Linked DNA regions of Homo sapiens: region 2 is linked to region 1. The links are contacts of gene promoters, found by promoter capture Hi-C in human tissues and cell types (Jung and others, 2019). All regions are on one chromosome and are shown on one strand. Each heading gives the region's core, a stretch centred on a gene start or on the middle of the fragment in contact. The rest is flanking DNA. Distances are from core to core; before and after follow the strand shown. Region 1 holds the start of PPP1R13B (protein phosphatase 1 regulatory subunit 13B). Region 2 overlaps KLC1 (kinesin light chain 1).

Evidence for each region. The method cuts DNA at HindIII sites, captures the fragments that hold promoters and counts their contacts. A contact is called where the count stands out against the background at its distance.
Region 2: a fragment that was not itself captured here is called in contact with the fragment with the promoter of PPP1R13B in region 1 in 1 of the 25 tissues and cell types used here (heart right ventricle).

What each region holds. Positions count from the first base shown.
Region 1 is chr14:103,844,317-103,851,451 of GRCh38, forward strand. It overlaps PPP1R13B (protein phosphatase 1 regulatory subunit 13B), which reads right to left and starts at 3,259. Exons shown (of 17, transcript NM_015316.3): 1 at 2,983-3,259. The coding sequence starts at 2,991. It overlaps PPP1R13B-DT (PPP1R13B divergent transcript), which reads left to right and starts at 3,405. Exons shown (of 3, transcript NR_038436.1): 1 at 3,405-3,427. RefSeq lists silencers at 2,769-2,968, 3,139-3,578, 3,599-3,728, 3,749-3,818. The HindIII fragment of the contact is 22,900 bases long and covers 1-7,135 here.
Region 2 is chr14:103,639,460-103,646,594 of GRCh38, forward strand. All of the region lies in intron 1 of KLC1 (kinesin light chain 1), which reads left to right. Among named protein-coding and RNA genes, the nearest start is that of KLC1, 14 kb to the left of the region's middle. RefSeq lists an enhancer at 532-1,032 and a silencer at 4,713-4,762. The HindIII fragment of the contact is 7,416 bases long and covers 1-6,737 here.

The sequences.
Region 1 (7,135 bases), core at 2,009-4,508:
AGCAAATAGAAGACTTCTACAGAGATTTGATTGTGTCAGATGAGAATTTGGCCACTCACTCTCATTTATTCTCAACAGCTGAGAGACTGGGCACTGTAGTACACCATGTGATTAATTAAAAGTTACCACATGGCCGGGCGCAGTGGCTCATGCCTGTAATCCCAGCACTTTAGGAGGCCAAGGTGGGCAGATCACCTGAGGTCATGAGTTCAAGGTCAGCCTGCCCAACATAGTGAAACCCTGTTTCTACAAAAATACAAAAATTAGCCAGGCAGGATGGAGGGTGCCTGTAATCCCAGCTACTCAGGAGGCTGGGGCAGGAGAATCTCTCGAACCTGGGAGGTGGAGGTTGCGGTGAGTCAAGATCATGTTGCACTCCAGCCTGGGCAACAGAGTGAGACTCTGTCACAAAAAAAGAAAAAAAGAAAAAAGTTACCACGACATTATATACTAATTGCCAATTTTCAAATAAAATAAAATATACTCTAAGCCTATGTTGTCCAATATGGTAGTCACTAAGCACATGTAGCTACTGAGCACTGGAAATGTGCTAGTCTGAGCTGAGGTGTGTGCTGTAAAATGCAAACTGTCACCGGATTCACACCAGATTTCAGACACTTAGTACCAGAAAAAATGTATAATATCTCATTAGTGGTTTTTTCATATTGAATACGTGTTAAAATAATATTTTGGATATGCTAAGTTAATAAAAGGATACTACTAAAATTAGTACTTTTTCAACTTGTTTCATGTAGTTACCACAAAATTTAAAATTGCATTTGTGGCTTGCTTTACATTTTTATTGGACAGTACTGCTCTACACAAACTGCAAAATATGACCCAACGTTCCTTTGATTCATCATCATCATGATGAATACCAAATATACAATAAATCGAGAAAAATCTTATTTACATTTTTGGATAGTTTAAAATATTACCAAGTAAGAATGGCATTTCTGAAAACTCCTACTAAATTTACAACCAACTCCAACTGTGTTAATAGAGGAAGGACTCAGTCCTACAAGTAGTATTTTTAGGGATCAAAAAGGAAATACAAAAGTAAAAGCCATACATGAGAGTCTAAGAGAAATACCATCTGTTTCTAAAAGGCATTTTTAAACAAAAGCGGTGTTTTAAACAGGTAATAGACCTGTTTTTTTAAAAAACAGTATTTTATTGTTTTGAGAAATCCGAAGAAATGCCCCAATTCCCAGCTAAACAAACCTCTTAAAAAGGAAACCTGTGAAGGTAGGAACTCAAAACTCTACTCCCGTGGAATAGAGGTAAGATGTCTGAATGAATCATATGGAAAATGTAAGCCAAGTTTCTTAGCAGGATATTTATAATTAAACATTATACAACGACGAAGCCAGCCAAAATTTTTCTAGATATCCTTCAATGCCACCACAGTATGAATGCATCAATCAACTATTACAGGATTTAACTAAAACTACTTTCAAAATTCTGAAACACCATAATGCCTTTCATCAAAATCTAGCTAGTGAGAATTAGGGAGGGAAGTTTCCAAATGCCTTATCTTATAAAGTTAGAAATTGAAAATTCAAAGCCATATTAAGAATAATAAATATTTGTATGACATTCTGTTCAACCATCACTTTTGGATACATCATCCTATTTGATCCTCAGGACAGCGCTCAGATATTGGTACATTTTTATCCCTACTTTAGAGGTAATTCCAGGCTCAAAGACCTTGACTTCTTCAAGGTCACATAGCTAAAAAGTGGAAGAACCAGCGTTTCACCCCAGATCTTCTGATGCTCATCCAATTCTCTTTCCATTACAAGACAATTATTCATTTAAAACCAAATGTTTAGAAACCCAACAAGTCTGATGCTAAAGAAAGACCTAAGGATCAAGTAGATCAAACCTTAAGACTTGGAAAACGCTGAAAGCCGGCTACAAAACATGCTGGAATCCGTTAAAAACGGGGAGAAGAGATTATCAAGAGAAAGGAAATCAAAGAGGAAGAAGGGGGATCTAATCTAAATGTCCTTGGGTGCAGCATAGCAGAATGGCAATATTCAAGTAGAGAATGCAGGGAAACTGCACTTTCCTGTGAAATGTGATTTTCAACGTAGTATTGTAGGTTAAAAAAATGACTGTGTTACTTTACTATAAACGTGTTTGAGAATTTTACTTACGATATAGGCGCTCAGAAAACCAATACCTCTCCAACTGGGTACAACCAGTCCCACATTTTTTCATAAGTCATGATGCTTACCTCCCAAAAAGCCAATTTTTAAAAATCAGAATTCAGCATCCCCTCCTATTCAGATTATAGGTAAAGGGAAGGGTCGGTAGGACGATGGCAAATCTAATGGCCAATGTCTTTCTAGGCGAAAGCATCCTTAAGGGCAGGACAAAGACACCACCACTACAAACGAACCTCGTTCAACCTTCAGAACACGGAGAACAAACCAGTTAAAGCAAAACGAACCAACATTGCAGATACGGGAAAAGGGAATTCCTAAGATGGCTCTCCAAATCCGTGCACTCGGCACCTTTCCTCAGTACAACCGCGAAGGCTACGGGAATGCGCCTGCAGAGTGTGGGAACTCCGGGCGCGGGTGCCCACCCCGCCGACTCCCAGGGCGACCCCAGAACGTTCGTTTCAGGCGGGTCACAGCTGCGCCACCCACCAGACCTGTGCCCCAGCGTCCGACCGCGCACCTGAGAGGACCGAGGAGATGACCGGCCCCAAATGCATCTGCTTCTCCCCGCGGCCGCGGAGGCCGAGCAGGAAGGGCCCGCAGGCGGCCCCGGCCCCGCGCTGACAGCCCGGCGCCGCCCCCACCTGCCCGCCTGGGGGGCGCCGCGGCCGGGCGCGCCCGCCCAGCCACTTCCTTCCCCGCCCGCCCGGCCTCGCACCGGCCCGCGGGGGCTGGGAGCCGCGGGAGGAAGGAGGTTTGGCCAGCGGCCCGCGGAGGAAGCCGCCGCCACCTCCCGCCCGCCCTCACCCACCGGCATCATCGCGGGGAGAGTCCGCGACGCCCTCGGCCGCCGCCTGACAGGACGCTCCGCGCCGAGCTGTGCCCACCGCTCCGGCCGCCTCCTAAGGCCGCGCTCCCGCCGCCGTGCTCTCCGGCCCGGCCGCGGCGAGGCGGCAGCTGCGGCGGGCTGCGGGGCTCTCGCTGGCCCTGTCGCGGCCGCCGGCGCGCTGCGTCGCTGTCCCGGGCACCCGGCCGCCGCCGCCGCCGCCTCAACCTCAGCCTCAGCCTCAGCCCCAGCCCGACAGCCTGCGGCCCGCCCGCCCGGCTCGCTCTTCAGCCCCCGCAGGCCCCGCCCCCAGCGCGACGCCCCGCACGGGTCCCGTAGCCCCCTCTGATTGGCCCGGTGGGAGCGGGGGCGGGGAGAGGGGCGGGGCTTCCCGGCTCCGCCCGCTACCCTCGCTCTCAGCGGCGGCCAGGTGCGTGCGCGTCCGCGCTCCCGGCGGCGGGGGAGGGGCGGACGCGCAGTGGGCACCGGTGGCCTCCCCCGCCCTTGCGTGAGCCCCGACTAGGGAAGACCGCGGACGGTGGGAGGACTGAGGCCCGACAGGGAAGGGCCGGCCCGGGTCCCGCAGCGGATCACGGCAGGGCCGGGACTCGAACCCGGGCTCCCGGGGGCCGACTGTGGGCCGGGAGCGTCCCTGCGGCGACGGCGCGCGCCCGCACTCTGACCGCGGCCTGACCCCCGGCTGCCGGCGCGCCGTGGGGCTGCGGCCCAGAGGCCAGTGGGAGGGGCGCGGGGGGCCCCCGGAGCGAGCATGTGACCCGAGGCCGCGCGCTCGGAACCAGCCCCGGCCCGACGCCCTTGGCTGGCACCTGCTTCTCCCCCACCGGCGTCTTCCGCGGCTCTCGGGGCCGCGCCCCCCGCACCAGCTCCCGAGCCTTGGCCTTCGCCCGAGCGATCTCCCGCCTAGAACCCCGCGCCCACCTGTGCCACCTGTGCCCACCTGCGCCAGCATCCCTCGAGGTCCAGCTCCAGCGTCCCCGGGGAGGGTCCGGTCCTCGTCTCCAGGGCCTGGGTCTCTCCCTGCAGTCCCGTCTCCAGAGGCGCCGCCCCCTCGGGCCTGAGCGCCGGAGTGACAGAGCCCTGGGCAGGGCCCTGAGCAGACCCTCAGTAAAGGCTGCCAGGGGGGTAGGCACCCGCTCGGGGCCCCCCACATGGTGCCATTCGCCCGGACCGCGGCGGAGAGCAGACAGGGGGACTGAGGTGCTCCCCGCGGCAGCACCGAACTCCCACGGGCATCAGAAGGCAAGGTCTGCGGATGGCCCCAGACACAGAAGGCGTAAGCCGCCCTGGGAAGCGCCGGCCCAGTGGAGAAGGCCGCCGCGAGGTCAGGGTCAGTCTGGAGCCTGTCTGGTTCTCGGAGAGGCTTCTGGCTGCTGCAGAGTGGGGGCAGAGCAAGGGAGGAGGCCAGGGAGCTCCCACCAGCCCATTCCTGGGGAGCCACCCCTGTCCCTCAGAGGCCACGGGGGCTCGTGTTTGCGAGTGTGGACTTTCCAGTTAGACAGACTTGGTTCAGCACCGCCTCCGCCACACCCTCGCCTGGGATCCTAAACAAGCCGCATCTTCTCTGCATCGTAGTGTGCTTGTCTCTGTGATGGGAGAGTGTAGGGATAATAGTGCCTGCCTCGTGTCAAGAGGCTTTTTCGGATGCGAGGGATGGAAAGCGCCCAGCACAATTTGTGGCACGTGGTAGCTGTTCCATAAATAGCATTCTGTAGTTGGGCCGTGATTAGCAAGGAGGCTTAGTGTACAGACGTCCCTGGGATTTTTAAACCTATCCACACCTGGGCATGAATGGCTAATGACACCCCTCTTCTGGGAGCAGAGTTTGGAGAGAAGAGGAGGCTCTAGATAATGAGTGATCCTAGGCTGAAAGTCAGAGACATACTTAAGTTCTAATTCTAGCTGCTCTGCTTCTGACCTCCTGTGGGGCCTTAGGCAACTTGCACTCCTTCTCTGGGCCTTGGTTTCCCCAGCTTTGACAGCTGATGTCCCTGAGTCACGAAGGGGTACTTCTGGCCCACGAAGCCTGACAAAGGACAGGTTTTGCCAAGGCTCTTCAGAGAGGTGCCCCCCGGGGTAAGGTGATCCAAATGAGCCTGCTCTTCCAGGAAGGGAAGCATTGGCACAAGGGCTCCCCTCTTGCCTGCAGGACCTGTGGGCACAGACAGTGGCAGCTACCGTGCCTCACACCAAAGCATCCTATATCCTCCAGGTAAGGGTCCATTTGAGGCAGGCTGGTCAGCTCCCCCTCAAGTCCTTCCCGCTGGTCCCCATCCTCCTCTCCACCCAGCCTGCCACCTCCAGGCATCGGCCCATCACCTCCCACCTGGACCAAGCTCATTCATTATAAGCCCACTGCTCTAGCCTCCACGCCCCCACCATTCCCAACACGCCCCTGCCCTCCATCTTCCTGGAGCACACACGGCCCAACCCTGTAAAGCCCTTCTGTGTCTCTCCATTACACAGACCAAAGTTCACGAGCAGCCCATCAGGAATCGCCGTGAATGTTGTTAATGTGCAGTGGCTCACGCCTGTAATTCTACCACTTTGGGGGGCCAAGATGGGAGGATTGCTTGAGGCCAGGCCAGGAGTTCGAGACCGGCCTGGTCAACACAATGAGATCCCCCCATCTCTAAAAAAAAAAAAAAAAAAAAAGGAATCACCAGTAATGATGGGATATAGGCATTAAGGTTACGGAAGAAGATGTCCATATTTTTTAGAGATGCATCCTAGCATATGTAAGGGGTCTGCAATTTGTTTAAAAACAATTCAGCCAGAGGGAAAGAGAGCCAAGCAATTAGGAATAACTGAAACATACGTGGCAAATTCTTGATAACATTTGAACCTGGATGGTGGGTATGTTGGGGTGCATTGTACTTTATACTCTATGTTTGAAATATTTTATGTTAAAAATGATTAAAGGGGCCGGGCGCGGTGGCTCACACCTGTACTCCCAGCACTTTGGGAGGCCGAGGCGGGTGGATCACGAGGTCAAGAGATCAAGACCATCCTGGCCAACATGGTGAAACCCTGTCTCTACTAAAAATACAAAAATTAACCGGCCGTGGTGGCGAGTGCCTGTAGTCCCAACTACTTGGGAGGCTGAGGCAGGAGAATCACTTGAACCCGGCAGGCAGAGATTGCAGTGAGCCGAGATTGTGCCACTGCACTCCAGCCCGGCAACAGAGTGAGACTCCGTCTCAAAAAAAAAAAAATGATTAAAGGGGCTGGGCACGGTGGCTCTGCTTGAAATCCCAGCACTTTGGGAGGCCAAGGTGGGTGGATCACTTGAGGTCAAGAGTTCAAGACCAACCTTGCCAACACGGTGAAACCCCGTCTCTACTAAAATACAAAATTAACTAGGCGTGGTGGCATACGCCTGTAATCCCAGCTACTCGGGAGGCTGAGGCTGGAGAATCACTTAACCCAGGAGGCAGAGGTTGCAGTGAGCCGAGATTGCGGCACTGCACTCCAGCCTGGGAGACAGAGCAAGACTCCATCTCAAAATAAATAAATAAATAAATAAATAAATAAAAGCAAGGCATGGTGGTGCTCACTTGTAGTCCCGGCTCCTCAGGAGGCTGAGGCAACAGGTTCACTTGAGCCCGGGAGATGGAAGCTGCAGTGAGCCAAGATCACGCCACTGCACTCTAGCCTGGGCAACATAGACCCTGCCTCAGGAAAAAAAAAAATAAAGATTAAAGGCTGTAGATTAAAGGCTGGGCATGGCTGGGCATGGTGGCTTAAGCCTGTGATCCCAGCACTTGGGAGGCCAAGGCGGGCGGATCACCTGAGGTAAGGAGTTTGAGATCAGCCTAGCCAACATGCTGAAACCCTGTCTGTACCGAAAATACAAAAATTAGGCCAGGTGCAGTGGCTCACGCCTGTAATCCCAGCACTTTGGGAGGCTGAGGCAGGCAGATTGCTTGAGGTCAGGAGTTCGAGACCAGCCTGACCAACCAGTCTCTAGTAAAATACAAAGTTAGCCAGGCGTGGTGGCACACGCCTATAATCCCAGCTACTCGGGAGGCTGAGGCAGGAGAATTGCTTGAACCCGGGAGGCAGAGGTTGCAGTGAGCTGAGATCGCGCCACTGCACTCCAGTCTGGGCAACGGAGTAA
Region 2 (7,135 bases), core at 1,780-4,279, 210 kb before region 1:
TGTGACAGGGTTTCGCTGTGTCACCTAGGCTGGAGTATAGTGGTACAGCCAAAGCTTACTGTAGCCTTGAGCTCCCAGGCTCAAACAATCCTCCCACCTTAGCCTCCTGAGTAGCTGGGACCACAGGCGTGTGCCACCACACCCAACTAATTTTTATTTTTGTAGAGACAGGGTCTCACTGTATTCCCCAGGCTGGTCTTGAACTCCTGGGCTCAAGCAGTGCTCCTGTCTTGGCCTCCCAAAGTGCTGGGATTACTGGTATGAGCCACCACACCCGGCCCAGATGTGAATTCTTTATTTTTATTTTATTATTTTTGAGACAGGGTCTCAACTCTGTCACCCAGGCTAGAGCACAATGGTGCAATCATGTTTCACTGCAGCCTTGATTTCCTGGACTCCAGTGATACACCTCAGCCTCCTGAGTAGCTGGGACCACAGGTGCATGTCACCACACCCAGCTAATTTTGGTATTTTTTTTTAGGATGGGGTTTTGCCATGTTTCCCTGTCTGGCTTTGAAATCCTGAGCTCAAGAGATCCACCCGCCTTGGCCTCCCAAAGTGCTGGGATTACAGGCGTGAGCCACTGAGTCAGGCTGTGAATTCTTTCTTTTATTTTCTTTATTTTTGAGACAGAGTTTCGCTCTGTTGTGGAGTGCAGTGGCACGATCTTGGCTCACTGCAAACTCCACTTTCCAGGTTCATGCGATTCTACTGCCTCACCCTCCCGAGTAGCTGGGATTACAGGTGTGCACCACTATGCCTGGCTAATTTTGTATTTTTAATAGAGACAGGGTTTCACCATGTTGACCAGGCTGGTCTCGATCTCCTGACTTCAGGTGATCGACCCACCTTGGCCTCCCAAAATTCTGGGATTACAGGCATGAGCCACTGCCCCTGGCCTGTGAATTCTTTTTTTTTTGAGACAGAGTCTCGCGCTGTCGCCCAGGCTGGAGTGCAGTGGCGCGATCTCTGCTCACTGCAAGCGTCACCTCCCGGGTTCACGCCATTCTCCTGCCTCAGCCTCCTGAGTAGCTGGGACCACAGGCGCCCGCCACCACGCCTGGCTAATTTTTTGTATTTTTGGTAGAGATGGGGTTTCACCGTGTTAACCAGGATGGTCTCGATCTCCTGACCTTGTGATCTGCCCGCCTCGGCCTCCCAAAGTGCTGGGATTACAGGCGTGAGCCACCGCGCCCGGCCCTGTGAATTCTTAATATACATATTGTATGTATACTTTTTTGGTTTTGTTTTTATCAAGTTATATATGTATTTTGTATTTATGTGTAGATTTGAAAATAAACTTTTAATTTTAGAATAGTTACAGATTTACAGAAAAGTTGCAAAGATAGTACAGAGAGTTCCCACATACTTTGCATCCAATTTCCCCTAATGTTAATATCCTACATTACTGTGATACATTTGTGACAACCAAGGAACCAACATTGGTACCTTACTATTATTATTACTATTATTTTTTTTTTCTTTTGAGACAAAGTTTTGCTAGGTCACCCAGGCTGGAGTGCAGTGGCTCCATGGCTCACTGCAACCTCTGCCTTCTGGGTTCCAGCAATTCTCCTGCCTCAGCCTCCCTAGTAGCTGGAATTACAGGCATGCGCTACTATGCCTGGCTAATTTTTGTACTTTTAGTAGAGATGGGGTTTTGCCATGTTGGCCATGCTGGTCTCGAACTCCTGCCCTTAAGTGATCCACCTGCCTCGGCCTCCCAGTGTTGGGATCACAGGTGTGAGTCACTGTGCCCAGCCTGGTACATTATTATTAACTGAACTCCACTTTATTTGGTATCACTGGTTTTTCCCTTGTCCTTGTTGTACCTCAGGATCCCATCCAAGATACCATATCACATTTAGTCATCATGCCTCCTGCTCTGTGGCTGTTTTCTTAGACTTTCCTTGCATTAGAGGACTGTCTTAGCTTGCGAGGCTGTAACAAAGTACCACAGGCTAGTGACTCACGAACAACACAAGCCACAGTCCTGGAGGCTGGAAGTCTGGGATCAGGGTGCCAGCATGGTCAGATTCTGGTGCAGACCCTCTTTCTGGTTGCATGCTACCGACTTCTAGATGTATTCTCACATGGTGAAAAGAGTGTGAGAGAGTTCCCTTTTTAAAAAAAATTTAATAATAATTATTTTTTTGAGACAGAGTCTGTCTCTGTTGCCCAAGCTGGAGTGCAGTGGCACAATCTTGGCTCACTGCAGCCTCCGCCTCCTGGGTGCACTTCATCCTCCCACCTCCACCTCAGCCTCCCAGGCTCAATTCATCCTCCCAAGTAGCTGGGACTACAGGTGCACACTACAACACCCAGATAATTTTTGTATTTTTTGTAGAGATGGGGTTTTACCATGTTGCCCAGACTGGTCTTGAACACCTGAGCTCAAGCTATCTGCCTGCCTTGGCATCCCAAAGTGTTGGGATTATAGGTATCAGCCACTATACTCTGCCTAGGTTCCCTTTATTTTTTATTTTTTTGAGACAGAGTCTCACTCCATCGCCCAGGCTGGAGTGCAGTGGCATGATCTCAGCTCACTGCAACCTCTGCCTGCTGGGTTCAAGCTATTCTCCTGCCTCAGCCTCCTGAGTAGCTGGGATTACAGGCATGCACCACCATGCCCGGCTAATTTTGTATTTTTAGTAGAGACGGGGTTTCACCATATTGACTAGGCTGGTCTCGAACTCCTGATTTCAGGTGATTCACCCACCTCGGCCTCCCAGAGTGCTGGGATTACAGGCATGAGCCACTGCTCAGCCCCTGGGTTCCCTTTTTTAAAGGCACTAATCCCACCGTGAGGGGTCCCCTCATGGCCTAATCACCTCCCAAAGGCCCCACCTCCTAAAAGCATTACTCTAGGCATTAGAATTTTAACATGTGAATTGGGGTGGGGGGCACACATTGATTCCATTGCAATAACCTTGATAGTTTTGAGACATATGGGCAAGGTATTTTGTACAATGTCCTTAAATTTGGGTTTGTCTTGATATTTTTCCCATGGTTAAGTCAGGGTTATGAGTTTTTAGGAGAAAGACTACTGGCTCCCAGTTTTGGATTCTGATTCCATTGTACCAAAACAAATCAGAACTCTTTGGAGTAATGGGTGATTCTAGGGCTGGGGCAGGGAAAATATAAGATGAGCCTGAAGCTTCTTCTAGTGTTTGAATGTAAGGATATGCTAAAAAACAAAGGGATGGGAACATGAAGAAGGGACACAGGAACCAACTGAAAGAGCTCCCATTGACAAAAGCTGGAACAACTTGAACAATAAAATAAATAATGTAGTTTTTTGGTTTTTTGGTTTTTTTTTTTTTTTTGAGACGGAGTCTCACTCTGTTGCCCAGGCTGGAGTGCAGTGGCGTGATCTCGGCTCACTGCAACCTCCACCTCCCAGGTTCAAGGCAATTCTCCTGTCTCAGCCTCCTGAGTTGCTGGGACAACAGGCGCACACCACCACGCCCGGCTAATTTTTTTGTATTTTTAGTAGAGACGGGGTTTCACCATTTTGGTCAGGTTGGTCTCCAACTCCTGACCTCAGGTAATCCACCCACCATGGCCTCCCAAAGTGTTGGGATTACAGGCATGAGCCTCCATGCCCAGCCAAGAATGTATTTTTAACAATTAGTATTTTACTTATCACCTAAAGTATAAAACAAATATCTGTAAGTCCATATTGATATAAATAATTACATTAATAAATGAGGAAAGAGACAAAGAATAGACTGATCTCCCTTAGAGAAGAATTCCAAATAATGGTAGATTCTTCCATCTTCCAGAGGGTCCTCTATAACTTTCCCCATCTCCTTGGAGTGTGGGCTGCACTTAGTGACTTGCTTCCTAAGAGTATGGAATGGGATGACTGTGTGTGGAGGTGGTGGTGATAATCTTACAGTGGCTAAACCTGCAAATGCTACCTGAGCCAGGTGGTCGAGGCTGATGTATTAGGTGTAAATCATGTTGGCACGTGCCCTTGATAGAATTGTTATGAAAAGATTCAAACCCTGTAAAATATTTGAAAAGATTTATTCTGAGCCAAATATGAGTGACCATGGCCCGTGACACAGCCCTCAGGAAGTCCTGAGAACATGTGCCCAAGGTGGTCGGGGCACAGCTTGGTTTTATACATTTTAGAGAGGCATGAGACATCAATCAGATACATTTAAGAAATACATTGGTTGACCGGGCATGGTGGCTCACGCCTGTAATCCCAACACTTTGGAAGGCCAAGGCAGGCAGATCACTTGAGGTCAAGAGTTCCAGACCAGCCTGGCCAATATGGTGAAACTCCGTCTCTACTAAAAATACAAAAATTAGCCTGGCGTGGTGGTGCATGCCTGTAATCCCAGCTACTCGGGAGGCTGAGTCAGGAGAATCACTTGAGCGCAGAAGGTGGAGGTTGCCTGGCCCGAAGGCATTTGTTTAATTTCCTTTTGCTTCCAATGTGGCTGTTAAGAAACCTAAAGTTGGCTGGGCACGGTGGCTCACGCCTGTAATCCCAGCACTTTGAGAGGCCGAGGCAGGCAGATCACGAGGTCAGGAGATCGAGACCATCCTGGGTAACATGGTGAAACCCCATCTCTACTAAAAATACAAAAAATTAGCTGGGTGTGGTTGCGGGCGCCTGTGGTCTCAGCTACCAGGGAGGATGAGGCAGGAGAATGGCCTGAACCTGGGAGGCGGAGCTTGCAGTGAGCCGTGATTGCACCACTGCACATCAGCCTGGGCAACAGAGCGAGACTCTGTCTCAAAAAAAAAAAAAAAAAAAGCCTAAAGTTATTCTCGATTCTTTCTACGTGACTTTTTTTTTTTGAGATGGAATCTCGCTTTGTCGCCCAGGCTGGAGTGCAGTGGCGTGATCTCGGCTCACTGCAACCTCCGCCTCCCGAGTTCAAGCAATTCTCTGCCTCAGCTTCCCGAGTAGCTGGGATTACAGGCTCCCGCCACCACACCCGGCTAATTTTTTTGTGTTTTTAGTAGAGATGGGCTTTCATCATATTGGCCAGACTGGTCTTGAACTCCTGACCTCCTGATCCACCCGCTTCAGCCTCCCGAAGTGCTTGGACTAAGGCGTGAGCCACCGCGCCCGGCCTGCATGACCTGTTTTTTTTCCTCCCTCTCTGGAAGTATAGAGAATATTCTCTGGGACTGGGTGTGGTAGCTCACGCCTATAATCCCAGTACTTTGGGAGGCCGAGGTAGGAGGATCACTTGAGCCCAGGACTTTGAGACCATTCTGGGCAACATAGTGAGACCCTGTCTCTACTTAAAAAGAAAAGAGAAGAGAAGAAAAAGAATATTCTCTTGTCACCAAAATATTTTAATTTTCTTAGGACAATTTTTTTGGGGGGTCAAGTTCTACCTTTAGAACAGTGCCTTGAATAAAGTAGAGGCTCAGTAAACATTTGAGGAATGGATGGATGTTACTCTTTTGGGGCTGGCCAGATTTCTTTCTTTAGTTCTGTTCTTTTCTGTTCTATTCTGTTCTTTTCCTTTTCTTTTCTTTCTCTCTCTCTTTCTTTCTTTTTCTTTGAGTTTCTTTCTTGTTGCCCAGGCTGGAGTGCAATGGGGTGATCTTGGCTCACTGCAACCTCCGCCTCCTGGGTTCAAGTGATTCTCCTGCCTCAGCCTCTCAAGTAACTGGGGTTACAGGCATGTGCCACCACACCTGGCTAATTTTGTATTTGTAGTAGAGTCGGGGTTTCTCCATGTTTGCTAGGCTGGTCTCGAACTCCCGACCTCAGGTGATCCGCCCGCCTCGGCCTCCCAAAGTGCTGGGACTACAGGCGGGAGCCACTGCGCCTGGCCTGGGGCTGGCCAGATTTCTCGGGAAAATTTGCCTGTCTTTTTTTTGGAGGCGAAGACCTAGCTGCCCTACCAGGTCTACAAACCAAGTGGTGGCTGAGAGTTGGTCATCTCCCAGGTTCCCCCTGGTGCTGCCTAGCTCAGTTCTTCTGCAGCTCCCTGCCATGCTTGTAGTGGACATCGCAGTCGCACTTCTTAGTTTAAAGCATCCACCTAATGCAGTTGTGTGTGTGTTATGCTGAACGTTGAGGATGTGTTTTGAGGAATGCATCGTTAAGTGATTTCGTTGTGGGGGCATCAGGGAGTACATTTACACAAACCTAGGAAGTATAACCTACTGCACACCTAGGCTGTATGGTGTAGCCCATTGCTCCTAGGCTAAAAACCCATACAGTATGTGGCTGTGGTAGGCAGCTGTAACAGTGGTAAATATTTGTGCAACTAAACATATCTAAACATAGAAAAGATATAGTCAAAATAGGTGTTACAATCCTTTTTTTTTTTTTGAGACAGAGTCTCGCTCTGTTGCCCAGGCTGGAGTGCAGTGGCACAATCTCAGCTCACTGCAAGTTCCGCCTTCTGGGTTCATGCCATTCTTCTGCCTCAGCCTCCCGAGTAGCTGGGACTACAGGCACCCGCCACCATGCCCAGCTAATTTTTTTGTATTTTTAGTAGAGACAGGGTTTCATCGTGTTAGCCAGGATGGTCTTGATCTCCTGACATCGTGATCCACCAGCCTCAGCCTCCCAAAGTGCTGGGATTACGGGCATGAGCCACCATGCCTGGCCTGGTGTTATAATCTTATGGGACCACTGTCAAATATGAGGTCCCTCATTGACCAAAATGTCATTATACTGCACATGACTGTATTGTACAGAATTTGTCTATTGTAAATTTGTTAGTTTGCGTCATATCTATCAGGGAGTTAGTTAAAATTCCCAAGGCCTTCTCTTTTAGTCATTAGTGTGACAGAGTAAGTAAAATATCACTCCTGTCATAAAGGACGAATTAAAAGGACAGTTTTAGTGTGTAATGAGAACTATTTTCTGAGACAGTCTTGCTTGCTCTGTCACCTACGCTGGAGTGCAGTGGCATGATCATAGCTCACGCAGCCTTGAACTCCTGGGCTCAAGCCATCTTCCCACTTCAGCCTCTCAAGTAGTTGGGAGTACAGGCACATACTACCATGCCCATCTAATTTTTAATTTTTTAATTAAAATATTATATGTATGCATATATATGTGTATATATACATATTTCAGACAAGGTCTCACTCTGTCACCCAGGCTGAAGTGCAGTGGCACAGTCATGGCTCACTGCAGCCG